Regions from separate parts of the Homo sapiens genome. Here all the other regions are linked to region 5. The links are contacts of gene promoters, found by promoter capture Hi-C in blood cells and fetal thymus (Javierre and others, 2016). All regions are on one chromosome and are shown on one strand. Each heading gives the region's core, a stretch centred on a gene start or on the middle of the fragment in contact. The rest is flanking DNA. Distances are from core to core; before and after follow the strand shown. Region 1 overlaps MSH3 (mutS homolog 3). Region 2 overlaps MSH3 (mutS homolog 3). Region 3 overlaps MSH3 (mutS homolog 3). Region 4 overlaps ATG10 (autophagy related 10). Region 5 holds the start of CKMT2 (creatine kinase, mitochondrial 2).

Evidence for each region. The method cuts DNA at HindIII sites, captures the fragments that hold promoters and counts their contacts. A CHiCAGO score of 5 or more calls a contact.
Region 1: a fragment that was not itself captured here is called in contact with the fragment with the promoter of CKMT2 in region 5 in 3 of 17 cell types (total CD4 T cells, M1 macrophages and endothelial precursors); the score reaches 5.9 in total CD4 T cells.
Region 2: a fragment that was not itself captured here is called in contact with the fragment with the promoter of CKMT2 in region 5 in 4 of 17 cell types (endothelial precursors, megakaryocytes, total CD8 T cells and 1 more); the score reaches 5.9 in endothelial precursors.
Region 3: a contact is called between a fragment that was not itself captured here and the fragment with the promoter of CKMT2 in region 5, in 1 of 17 cell types (total CD8 T cells). The highest score is 5.1, in total CD8 T cells.
Region 4: a fragment that was not itself captured here is called in contact with the fragment with the promoter of CKMT2 in region 5 in 1 of 17 cell types (neutrophils); the score reaches 5.4 in neutrophils.

The regions. Positions count from the first base shown.
Region 1 is chr5:80,697,945-80,700,644 of GRCh38, reverse strand. The region is part of intron 8 of MSH3 (mutS homolog 3); the gene reads right to left. Among named protein-coding and RNA genes, the nearest start is that of DHFR, 44 kb to the right of the region's middle. The HindIII fragment of the contact is 4,490 bases long and covers 1-2,700 here.
Region 2 is chr5:80,681,444-80,684,143 of GRCh38, reverse strand. All of the region lies in intron 8 of MSH3 (mutS homolog 3), which reads right to left. Among named protein-coding and RNA genes, the nearest start is that of DHFR, 28 kb to the right of the region's middle. The HindIII fragment of the contact is 1,819 bases long and covers 453-2,271 here.
Region 3 is chr5:80,665,090-80,667,789 of GRCh38, reverse strand. MSH3 (mutS homolog 3) reads right to left here. Exons shown (of 24, transcript NM_002439.5): 3 at 2,427-2,647. Among named protein-coding and RNA genes, the nearest start is that of DHFR, 11 kb to the right of the region's middle. RefSeq lists an enhancer at 1-199. The HindIII fragment of the contact is 1,419 bases long and covers 615-2,033 here.
Region 4 is chr5:82,215,349-82,218,048 of GRCh38, reverse strand. All of the region lies in intron 5 of ATG10 (autophagy related 10), which reads right to left. Among named protein-coding and RNA genes, the nearest start is that of RPS23, 62 kb to the left of the region's middle. The HindIII fragment of the contact is 4,691 bases long and covers 1-2,700 here.
Region 5 is chr5:81,231,883-81,234,582 of GRCh38, reverse strand. It overlaps CKMT2 (creatine kinase, mitochondrial 2), which reads right to left and starts at 1,261. Exons shown (of 10, transcript NM_001099735.2): 1 at 1,206-1,261. The HindIII fragment of the contact is 4,095 bases long and covers 1-2,700 here.

The sequences.
Region 1 (2,700 bases), core at 19-2,518, 530 kb after region 5:
ATCTGGATTTTCATGAGTTAAGCACATCCATTAAAATTGCTAGCTAGATATACAAAAAGTATCAGGACTAAAAAAAAAACCTACTGAAAATACAATGGCATTACCACCAGGGAAGAAATTAATGTAATTTTTAAAAAGAAATTTCAAAATGACAGATTTTTTAATACTAATAACACTTCCTCTTTAAATGGTTTCCCAGTGGCAAACATTTTCCTACAGCATATGAGATTTATTTCTTCCATTTAGTCACTACCATCTCTACTACCAGAATTGATTTGTTCTGTCGCCCAGACTGGAGTGCAGTGGGGAGATCTCGACTCACTGCAACCTCTGCCTCCCAGGTTCGAACAATTCTCCTGCCTCAGCCTCCTGAGAAGGTGGGATTACAGGCACGTGCCATCATGCCCAGCTAATTTTTTGTATTTTTAGTAGAGATGAGGTTTCACCATGTTGGCCAGGCTGACCTTGAACTCCGGACCTCAAGTGATCCACCCGCCTCAGCCTCCCAAAGTGCTCGGATTTTAGGCATGAGCCACCCTGCCAGGCCCACAATTTATTTTCTAATTCTAGATTATCTAAATAGTTAAGTGAAACTACCGTCTAATAAACATAATGAAACAGAATGACAAAGTAGTCAACTTTATATTTATCTTCTGCTCTCGAAAAGAGGAATGAGGAAAATGGGGAAGACAAAATATAAAGAAAAAAAGAGATTTCCTACGAATACCACAACAGAAAAGGTTTCAAGCGCCAGAGGGGAGGCTAGTGCCTAGTTATCATCAATATCAATCTTTAAACAGTAACTTAGCCATGTAGATCCCATTAATATTTGCTGTAAAGGAATATCTATGGAAATGTCAGGATGCTTCAATCAATTTACAGTGATATTAAAAAATTTTTTAAAGAAATAAACATAATGGGGAAAAAACGATAAGAAATCAATATGATCTTTCCAAAAGAGTAAATGAATTGGCTACATCTGTATAATGTAAATCTATATAATGTAAATAGACATTGATTACCATATATGTTAATGTATAGATTTCCAGCTACTCCAACAACCTTTTTTTTTTTTTTTTTTTTTTTGGAGACAGTGTTGTACTCTGTTGCCCAGGCTGGAGTGCAGTGGTGCAATCTTGAATCACTGCAACCTCCACCTCCCGGGTTCAAGCCATTCTCCTGCCTCAGCCTCCCAAGTAGCTAGGATTACAGGTGCTGACACCACACCCAACTAATTTTTGTACCTTTAGTAGAGGTGGGGTTTCACCATGTTGGCCAGGCTGGTCTGGAACTCCTGACCTCAGGTGATCCACCCATCTCGTCCTCCCATAGTGCTGGGATTACAGGTATGAGCCACCACGCCCAGCCTTACAACAACCCTTCTATGTTTAAAAAACCCAAATCAGTTTTGTTAAGAAAAACAAATAGGAGATACCCATTATTCTCTTTATTCTAAACATCACTTATTTAATCATTCATTTACCAAGCATTTATTAAGCACCTATTATGTGTGAGCTACTTTGATAGGTGCTGGGTACACAAAGGGTCACTAGGCTACGGTCCCCATCACCAGCCATCTCAGCTCAGTCTCTGTCACAGGAAACTCTTTATCCAGGCCCTGTGTAATGCCGCTTTCTCACTCCACCGTTTCACTCTTGATTCTCTTTTTATTTTTTATTTATTTGTATATTTTTATTATACTTTAAGTTCTAGGGTACATGTGCACAACGTGCAGGTTTGTTACATATGTATACATGTGCCATGTTGGTATGCTGCACCCATTAACTTGTCATTTACATTAGGTATATCTCCTAATGCTATCCGTCCCCCCCACCACCCCACAACAGGCCCCCCGGTGTGTGAGGTTCCCCTTCCTGTGTCCAAGTGTTCTCATTGTTCAATTCCCACCTATGAGTGAGAACATGCGGTGTTTGGTTTTTTGTCCTTGCGACAGTTTGCTGAGAATGATGGTTTCCAGCTTTATACACCCTTTCTCTCCAAAACACGTCTGTCCTGCCTCAGGTTGCCTGCTCATGCTGGCAGAGTAACCCAGCCAAACTAGTTTCTGCTTCCTAAGAAAAGCACGCTCTCTCACACCTCCACCTGACTGGCATTCATTCTTCCAGTCTCAATTCTAACACACCCCTCTAGCAAACTAGCATGATGCTCAAGGGCTGCCAGTAACTCTAAGATATTTTCAACCAGCGCTTTCATTACAATTATTTCCATGACTACCTCCCCTCTAGACTATAAGAACTTGGAAAGGAGGGATCTTTCTCATTTCTGTATCCTTGCCACCTAGTAACAAAGCTGGCGCACAGCAGCCACTCAATAACTGTGTTTAAGGATGAATAAATGAATGACTGTATAATAATGTTCAACTTAGAAGATGTATCAACAACTTGAGAATCTACTGGAAACATCCATCAAAATGCAGATTTTGGCCAGGCGCAATGGTCCACGCTTGTAATTCCAACATTTTGGGGAGGCCAAGGTGGGTGGATTGCTTGAGCCCAGGAGTTTAAAACCAGTATAGAAGACATAGAGAGGCCTCATCTCTACAAAAAAAATTAGCTGGGTGTGGTTGAGCACACCTGCAGTCCCAGCTACTCAGGAGGTTGAGGTGGGAGGATTGCTTGAGCCTGGGGGGTCAAGGCTACAGTGAACCACGATGGTGCCACCATACTCCAGCCTGAGGAA
Region 2 (2,700 bases), core at 113-2,612, 550 kb after region 5:
GCAAAAAGGACAAAATTGGAGGTATCACATTACCTGACTTCAAATTATACTACAGAGCTATAGTAACCAAAATGGCATGGTACTGGCATAAAAACAGACACACAGACCACTGGAACAGAACAGAAAACCCAGAAATAAATCCATACATCTACAGTGAACTCATTTTTGACAATGGTGCCAAGAACATACACTGAGGAAAGAATCTTTTCAACAAATGGTGCTGGGAAAACTGGACATCCATATGCAGAACAATGAAACTAGACCCTATCTCTCACCATATACAAAAATCAAATCAAAAATGGATTAAAGACTTAAATCTAAAATGTCACACTATGAAATGACTAAAATAAAACATTGGGGAAACTCTCCAGAACACTGAACTGGGCAAAGATTTCTTAATAGGGCAACCAAAGCAAAGATGGACAAATGGGATCACATGAAGTTAAAAAGCTTCTGCACAGCAACAGAAACAATCAACAAAGTGAAGAGACAACCCATGGAATGGAAGAAAATGTATGTAGACCACCCATGTGACAAGGGATTAATAACCACAATATATAAGGAGCTCAAACAACTCTACAGGAAAAATCTAATTATCCAATTTAAAAATAGACAAATTGAATAGACATTTCTCAAAAGAAGACATACAATGGCAGCCTGGTATGTGAAAAGCTCTCAACACCATCGTTCATTACAGAAATCCAAATCAAAACTACAATGAGATACCATCTCACCTCAGTTAAAATGGCTTTTATCCAAAGACATGCAATAATAAATGCTGGTGAGGATGTGGAGAAAAGGGAACCCTCACAGACTGTTGGTGGGAATGTAAATTAGTACAACCACTATGGAGAGTAGTTTGAAAAAAAACTACCAAAAAACTAAAAATAGAACTACCACATGATCCAGCAATCCCACTGCTAGATATATACTCAAAAGAAGGGAAATCAGTATATAGAAGAGATATGTGCACTCCCATGTTTACTACAGCACTATTCACAAGAGCTAAGATTTGCGAGCACCCAGGTGTCTGTCAGCAGACAAATGGGTAAAGAAAATGTAGTACATATATACAATGGAGTAGCATTCTGCCATGAAAAGGAATGAGATCCTGTCATTTGCAACAACATGGATGGAACTGGAGGTCATTATTTTACATGAAATAAGCCAGGCACAGAAAGATAAACTTTGCATGTTCTCACCTACTTGTGGGAGCTAAAAATTAAAACAACTGAACTCATGGAGATAGAGAGTAGAAAGATGGCTACCAGAGGCTGAGAAGGGAACTGGGGATGGTTAATGGGTACAAAAAAAATAGAAAGAATAAGACCTAGCATTTGATAGTGCAACAGAATGACTACAGTCAAAAATCATTTAATTGTACATTTTAAAATAACTAAAAGAGTATAATTGGGTTGTTTGTAACACAAAGGATAAATGCTTGAGGAGATGGATACCCCATTTACCCTGATGTAATTATTATGCATTGTATGCCTGTATGAAAGTATCTCATGTAACCCATAAATATATACATCTATTATGTACCTACAAAAAACTTTAGCCATGCCTGGCTAATTTTTGTATTTTTAGTAGAGATGGGGTTTCACCATGTTGGTCAGGCTGGTCTCGAACTCCTGATCTTGTGATCCGCCTGACTTGGCCTCCCAAACTGCTGGGATTACAAGCATAAGCCACTGCGCCCAGCCACAGAAAATTTAATTAAAATATAAAAAAAAAAACTTCCTCTTACAGAGAGCCTTCTACAGCAGGTACTATTTCAGGCGCTTTACCTATATTAACTTATTTAATCCTCACAACAACCCCATGAGGTAAGCACTCTTAATACCCCCAATATAAAGGACACTGAAGGACAATACAGTAGATAACTTACTCAAAGTCACTAAAGGGAAGAGCTAGTTTTCCAACTCAAACCCTGAGTCACAAGAGTCCACACTGTTTGACCCCTGCTAACTTTTGAATTTCCTCTACTTCATTCTGTCCATAGATATAAATTAGCTGTAGGAACTCCACAGAAATGCAGATTTAACTTTTGACTTCGCTTAGTCCAATATGCAAATAAAGTGAAAATGATCAAAGGATACAAAAAAAAGTGCAAAGATTGAAAAATTACACACGGTCAGTAAACATAGAGAAAATTATTTACAATGCTAACTAGAGAAATTCAAATTAAAATAAGACAAAAGCAGGCATTAAATTTGGTAAAACCCACATAAGACACCTAAATTATCTTTGATATGCCAAATTCAAGCTTTTAAATCTCATGTGATGAACAAACATTTAGGAATATCACCAGTCAATGAATGCTGCTTGACAAACAAAAATTCACTTTTGACAATGTCATTATGAAATATTTTGATATTTTATTGAATTTCGCCATTGTTATTTTATAAAATTAAGCAGAAAACAAAAAAATGAATGTGTTGATAAAATTGATTGACTTTACTCAATCTAAATTAATAAAATATATACTAAGTTAATAAAATATATACTAAGTTAATAAAATATAAAGAAAAATGAACTAAATCAAAGACAGGAAATCATAATTTATCCATTTATCATAATTTATCATAATTTATCCATTCCATTTCTATATTCATTTTTTCAGTATTACAAATACTGTTATGATGAATATCCATATATAGAAATATTCATGTGCATTTCTGATGATTTCCTTAAGAT
Region 3 (2,700 bases), core at 75-2,574, 570 kb after region 5:
ACCCTCTCTGGGGCTCTGCAGTTCCTGGAATCTCCAAGCTTCTGGGCGCCACTGTGTTCCCTGGTGCCAGCTGTGGAAGCTGTTTGTGGTACGCCTGGTCCAGCCCTCACTCACGCTGGCACCTGGAGCTGCCCACCCTGCCGAAGCCAGCATGCCTGGCAGTGCACAGGGGCCAGACCCCATGGTCACCTGCTCACACACCCCTCACCCTCACCACTCCACTCCTGGCTCACCCTTGGCAGCTGCGAGATTCAGGCCAAAAGCAAAAGCCAAGCACAGCCTGCCAGGCCGAGTGGGAGGAATGAGCCCAGCAGGCCCAAGTAAAAACTCGGGCAAAGGCACCACCAGCCACAGAGGTTTACAGCTGGCGAAGCAACACCCCAAGGATTGCATAACAATTTTCCTATACCTAAGAATGCCTTTGCTTTTAATTTTGATGAGTTTCCTATTTTGTTTCCATGACTTTTATGTCATGGAATATAGTATGTATTCTATATTAAATGCAGGTATATACTATGTAGTATAAAAGTTAATCAACACAGAAAATATATTTCTTACATTGTAAAAACTTATTCTTACTTTATACTTTATTCTTTTAGGAAATGAGATAAGCTTCCAGGAAAAAAAAGTTTTATCCTTATGGGATGCTAACAATTAAATCAATCTAAATACTTGAATATTAAGCAACTTTTTTTTAACTTTCATTTTAAGTTCAGGGGTACATGTGCAGGTTTGTTATATAGGAAAACTTGTGTCATGAGGGTTTGTTGTACATATTAATACCTGGGTAACAAAATAAGCAACTTTAAAAAAAATGATTTGGATAGAAATACTCATCAGATACATTACATTCTATTTCATATTCCCAGAGACAGTATGCTGAACTCAATTTAACCTTGTCTGGACAATTCAGAGTGATCAGAATATATTTCGAAACCTATTGAGAGTTATGGCATTGCTGACCCCACCCTAATGGTCCTGGACCATGGGGCATTTATGTTCACTCAGTAGCTTTTTGCCATTCATCCACGTCTATCCATGCCATCAAACAGCTTATCACCTGTAATAATGGCACTGCTTCTACGTGCCCCCTCTGTCTACTTACTTCTAATTTCCTGTGATGTGGACATGCCAAGTTGGTCATTCTATGTATAAAGCAATAATGTATACGCTCTTCTGAGACCTTGGAGTAAATGCTCCTATCAATAAAGTGAGCTTTAATGGATAAACTTTATGACTTCTATGCTTAATAACCACTATACTTAGGTGAACTGCTTCTAAGTATTAAAAGAGACTAAAAACAAAAACACCTTTTTTTTCTTGATGATCTAAGATAAGTCAATCAATATTAGCCTGGCTGAGGGAGGAGTTCATGGATCTGGGCTTTGTGGGAAAGGTGTGAAATCTTGAAAATTATAGGCAAAATTTTGTTGGCTTGAGAATTTTTCTGAAGAAAAAGGCCAACAGCTTTCATTAGAATTTCAATGACTCATATATATACATACACACATACATATACATATATAGAACCATTTCTCTAATTCAATGGTTGTCAATCACAGCTACAGATTAAAATGACTGCTTTTCCTTTAGTCTCACCTCATCTGCAGGCTAAGGTGGGAGGATTGCTTGAGACCAGAAGTTTGAGACTACAGTGAACTATAATCGCACAACTGTACTCTAGCCTGGACAACAGAGCAAGACTCCATCAATAAAAATAAAATACAAAATAAAATGTAAACTTTTAAAAAATATCCATGCCCATTTGTCAGTGAAAACCAATTAGATAAGATTCTGAGGGAAGGTTCTTAATGGCAATTTTTGTTTGAAGTTCTCCAGGTGATTCCAATGTAAAGCTAAGGTTGCGAACCAATCACTATTCTGAATTACAGATTTCAATGATGGAGCATGAGTTAAATTCCCTGATTCTGCAGTTATGAAAACCATTAAAAGTCTCAAAACAAATAGTGGATAAAGTAAAAAGCCCATGTTCATTTGGCTTACATTTGAATTTACTTTCTATCTATCAAGCTTTCAACTGAAACCTCAAAATATCTAAGTTGCCCATCATGATTTTCCACGGTAATCATGGAAACTCTAAGGAAGACTGTAAGAAACTGTGCTTGTATTAATTCTCAATAAAGAATCCCTCCAAGTCAAGGGCTCCTGATCCAGGCAATACCTCAGAATTACCTGGAAGGCTTTTGTTTTGTTCCCATACAAACCAATTAATCCCTCCCAAAACACAGTAAATCGAATCTCCAGGGATGTAAGAAAACTAAACTAAAACACAAAAGCTCCCTCAGATGATTCAGAAGACCATCCAAGTTTAGGAACCATTGCCATGAATGACCTCAGAGAACCTGACAGTACTTCAGAACCCACTATTCTAGGTAACTGGATACTCATCTATAGCAGTTACATACCTTTTGATTAATTTGACGTTTCGAATCTTCAGAAGAAACTGCATTCTTTGCGTGTAGAAGACTGATATCATCAAAATCAGTACATTTTGGCAGAACTGCAAATCTCTCCTGCAGAGATTCTGTCTGGACTCTACTTTGAGGAAGGGCAGAATCGCAGCAGAATTCTTTCAATTTTTCCAGAGACTTTGAAACATTCCTGGTCCTCAGACATTTCTTTGGCTCTTAGGCAGCAAATAAGAAGAAAACAGAACAATAGTAATTTTGGTCTCATTAT
Region 4 (2,700 bases), core at 64-2,563, 980 kb before region 5:
AGAGAACAGTGTTCTGTTATAACCTTCCTTATGCAGCTGTTTTTTTGTTTGGTTTTGTTTTGTTTTAATTTAGAGACAAGGTCTGGATCTGTTGCCCAGGCTAGAGTGCAATGGTACAATCTCAGCTCACCACAGCCTTGACCTCCTGGGGTCAAGCGAGCCTCCTACCTCAGCCTCCCGAGTAGCTAGAACCACAGGTGCACACTACCACACCCAGTTAATTTTTTTTTTTTTTTTTGGTAGAGAGGGGGTCTTGTTATATTGCCCAGGCTGGCCTCAAATTCCTGGGCTCAAGCAGTCTTCCTGCCTCAGCCTCCCAAAGTGCTGGGTACAGGTGTGAGCCACCACACATGGCCAGCTGTTTTGAGAATTAAATGAGACAATGCATGTAAAGCATGTTGCCTGTGTAAACTGCTGCCAATCAATATTATGCCCTATATGTGTATGTATATGGGTGTGTGTGTGTATATATATGCATATATATTCTACAATTTGTCACAAAAGATTCATGTGGCAAAAAATAGCTTCTGACACATACACATATATATGACAGGATATATAAGGGATAAGATTGCATTTATACCTTATAAGAATTATAAGGTAATATAATATATAAGCACATAGTAAATGTAATATTACTATGTAATAAAAGTAGTAAATGAACTAATGCACATAAATAGCACAGTGTTTAGTAAATAACAAATGCTTAACAATGTTCGTTGTGGTCATCATCACCATCACCACCATTATTTCTCCCATTTTATATAGGAGGACACTGAATTTCCAAGGGAGTTAGGTAACTTACCCAAGGCCAAACAGCTAGTAAGAGGCTGGGCTGAGACTGATGTCTGTTTGATTGCAAAACTCATGATCTTCCCAATTTTACTATAGGCCTAAGCATTCTTACAGAGTGGTTAAGTATTCTGCTTCTATAAAACAGGTTTCAAGTAAAAAGAGAAGATAGTTGTTGCTACCATCGTCATTTTTTTTTTTTGAGACTGAGTCTCACTCTGTCACCCAGGCTGGAGTGCAGTAGCGCAATCTCGGCTCACTGCAACCTCCACCTCCCGGGTTCAAGTGATTCTCCTGCCTCAGCCTCCTAAGTAGCTGGGACTACAGGCACGCACCACTACACCCAGCTGATTTTTGTATTTTTAGTAGAGATGGGGTTTCACCATATTGTCCAGGCTGGTCTTGAACTCCTGACCTCATGATCCACCCACCTCGGCCTCCCAAAGTGCTGGGATTACAGGCATGAGCCACTGCGCCTGGCCTGTTGCTACCATCTTCATTCTTATAGCTGTGGACTCAAATAAATCTAATGAAACTCCTAATAGCATGAGTTTTATTGGTTTGGCATATTACAATAATCTATTGCTAGTGTAAGACATTTCCTGGTCATAAGGCAAGTATCTAGAAGTGGCTTTTGCTGAAGTGTTGCCAGTCTGTCATTGATCTCCCATTCTATTCATACCTAATTAGCATGCTTGAAGTCTCACAAGTTGCTCAGGTGGCTTACTTGATTCTGGTATTTTAAAACAATACTATTATTGTGGATGTGATGCATAATTTTACCATATCAGAACATCAAAATCCATTCATTAAAGAATCTATCAAAGTCTGGATGTAAGTTAATAATATATGTCTCTTCTCTGGTCTGGGTATGAAAAAGGAAAGTTACTTGAAAATAAGAGGGTAGAAGATTTATTTTTAGACCAGGATATACTTAGCTAATAGTCTTAAGCCAGGGTGGCTCCAGGCCAGAGCGAAATTCACTAAGTTGAATCTCTTTTTGTTGCCCTTCCTTTTTACTCTGAAGCAGACAAGGTAATAAGCAGTGGGGACATATCTAGGATCTACAGAATATTTCTGCAGTTTCTATTTTCTAAATCATCAAGCTGTTCTTTAGTTTTATAGAGCAGTTTTTCAATTGTTGAGGATCTTTCTGCAGAAAGGCAATTTGATTTCTATCCTTGGCTCTTCGATTATACATTCTATCATCACTAAACATTGATTAAGCCTGCTGCAATACACTCCCTTGTATTTGGGTCTTTGAATTCTCAGAAGGTCATTATTTATTACAATGTAACAAATTGGATTTTTTTTTTTTTTTGAGATGGAGTTTCGCTCTTGTTGCCCAGGCTGGAGTGCAGTGGGGCGATCTCAGCTCACTGCAACCTTCACCTCCCAGGTTCAAGCTATTCTGCCTCAGCCTCCCGAGTAGCTGGGATTATAGGCGCCTGCCACCATGCCCAGCTAATTTTTTGTATTTTTAGTAGAGAATGGGGTTTCACCATGTTGGCCAGGCTGGTCTCGAACTCCCGACCTCAGGTGATCCACCTGCCTCAACCTCCCAAAGTGCTGGGATTACAGGTGTGAGCCACCGTGTCTGGCCTGGAAATATTTTTAAAATATGGTCAATGCAGGTGCTGTATTTATCAGTGTTAGCCTTTGTTTCAGGACAAAATGAGCTGATGTTTCTTAACAAACATGACATTTAATTCAAGTGTTTTTTAAAGATATATAAAAATTAATTTTTTCTTTCTGAGAATATCACCATTGAAAAAACTCAAGGTCTGGTAGGCAGCTTTCTAAAACGGTTCAATAATTCCCTTGTGTCCCCTTGCGTATGGGCTGGATCTACTGTCTTGCTTCTAACAAATAGAATATGGCTAAAGTGATGGGAAGCCACTTCCATTA
Region 5 (2,700 bases), core at 12-2,511:
TTGGAAAAGGTGCCTATCAATGCAGAGGAAGTGAAGTGCTCAGACCGCCAAACAAGGCCAAGAGCCTCCCGGAAGAGCCTGCCTGTCAGGAAGTCTCTGGCCACATGCTGTGGCCATGCTCGCCTCTATGAGAGGACAGAGAGAACAGACCAAGGACACGAGTTCAGAACAGAGAAAATGTGAGAGCCGTAGACAGGAAAAGCAGCCCTTCTGGAAACAGCACACTGGTGTACCTAGCGTAACCTTGTCCTGAGGGCCACTAACTGCCCCTCACTTGACTCAGCTGACACTGTGAGGGGTCACGAGCCTGGCAACACTTTCTGGAAGGTCTAAAGGGCAGCACTGAGGAGACCTAAAGGTTTTGGTCTGTTTGTCAAATGTCACTCTTCCTCACATTCGGAGGAGAGCATTTGAAGGCAGACCACTCTAGGGGCAAGAACAGGACTGATTTTAACCCCGGGACAACCAACCAAGCAAGCAAGCTAGTGAAGAACAGGCCTCTGCCCAGGTGAAACACGTGGGGCCAATTCCATAGGTTTTTTTTTTTTTTTTTTTTTTTTTAATTAACCTCCGGTGGGAAAGGTAAGGATGGTGGGGAGGGGAGACGGTTACTTGTCTCATTATCAATGTGTTAGTATTAGTGACGGCAAAACTGAATCTCTAGCAATACTATTTGCCCGTTTAAACTGGGCCTGGCTATTGGGCTTATGAGCAAATAGCTTCTCAAAATTTTAATTTTCTAGTTAGTTCATCCCAAGTCACTGATTTACATGTCTTTTGAGACTGAGACTGCTGGGGAAAAACATTCCCAGAAATGAGTGGATTAGACTCTGTGAATTACAAGGGAAAGACACTTTAAGTTTAAAGTTGTCCCAAACTTAGCGTCAAAATACAGCCTTTAGATTTTTTTTTCCATCGAGAAAAATTCCTGATTCACTACCAAAAAGAGGCCCTGCAGGCAGCGTGCTGATTTGTTCTGCTCCTGGTGCTGAGCTGCCCCCACCTGTGTGCAGGGAGGAGGGGTCGCTTCGGCCAAGGGCGGGAGCTCTGCTGGCTTTAGCGAGTCACCATTGCCTCCTCGCAGTCAGCGTCCTAACGGGGTCCCCGTCTACAGCCCGGCATCCACTCCTCCAAGGCCCTTCACACTGGCTCTAGCCATGACCCCTCTTTGGAGGAATAAAGCAGAGTTTCACGGACTCACCGACCTTGAAGCCGGAGCCTCCCACGTCCTGCTGAGCGCACACAGCCAAGAAGTGTATGCAGGGCGAGCTGGTCGGGCCGGCCTGGAAATCCTCCCTGGCGGGGCGGGGCCAGAGGACCTCACCAATCCCAGCGTAGACCTCCGGGCGCACCGGCCCCCACAGCTGTACCCTTGAAGGCAGGCCCGTGGGCGCTGGGCCCTTTATAGCACCTGCCCTTTCTCTGAAACGTAAAAGGCGGAGCCAGTCTTGCTTCCCAGGCCTGGTCCTGGAGGCTCCTTTGCCAGGGCTCTGGATCTCAGAATGGAAGGGCCAGCAGGTGAAATTGCACATCTGTTGGGGGATTTGTTTCTCTCTTCTCTCAGGTGTACCAGCCTTGGGGCCCTGGTGAGCTCTGGAGGATGAACCCCTCAAGCCAAGGTCGGAGAGGAGGATGTCTCAAGCTGCCTGGCTCCAGCAGCTGACCGGGCCCTGAGCCAGGGGCTGGAGGGACCTCCTTCCAGCGTCTTTGTCTGGGACCTGGATCCAGGGACAATTACAGTCAGGTTTCTGTTCAAGATCAGGCCCCCTGCAGTAGATGGCTAGATCATCTCGCTTTCTGTCCACACCAGCTTAACCCACGGCAGGCCATAGCCCTGCTTAAAAATAGCCCCGCTTGGGATATCCACCGCACGCCGGGAAGGCTGCCTGTAAATAGCAATGACCCAGCAGGATTTTGGACAGCAGCCCTGCCATTTCAAGGGAGCCTGCCTAGGCATCTGGTGACCGTCACGTACTCAGCTTCTGAGGCCACGTGGACATGACCAATTGGTTCCTGTCTCTTCCTTCTCAGAGCCCAGCTCATGCTCAGAGGACTTGATGGAGCAAGGGGTGGAGCCCCAGGAATAACCTTCTACCCAGTGTGGTTCTCCTTCATTCTCTGAAGGAGTTTCCATTTCTTTTAAACACGACCCATGTTTAAAAATATCATCTATTTTACCTTTGCATGGGGTACTGACAGGGAGAGCACGTGAGGGGGCCTTTTGGCGGGATGGGAAGTTTCCTGATTGGGGTGGTTATATAAAGATTGGGACCAATCAAATTAATTTCATAATCCTTTAAGGAGTCAAGACCCACCAGCTTGCATATTCTATCATCAGGGCAGTCTCGGTTTATTCCTTCTCAAAATAGCTCTTTTCCACACACACTTGTTTCAAGTCAGTTCAGGCACCAACTGAAATAAATCCATTGACCCTGAAATAGCCCAGCTCCCAGATCCAGAAAATTATAAGGCTTTTAAAGAGCATGGAATTGTAGATTTAAAGAATGGCAGTTATAGCAAAAACCTCCTTTTCCTCCCCAATTGCCTAATCAACATTTAGGGCCCCCTCCACTCACCCGACCTCAACACCTTATATTTTATAGAGTAAATGTTTATGTTAGTAAGGTCAGAAGAAAAATTGGGTCATTGTTGAGAAAAGAGGGTACCACCCTTCTTTTGGGGGACTGGTCCTCTTCAAGC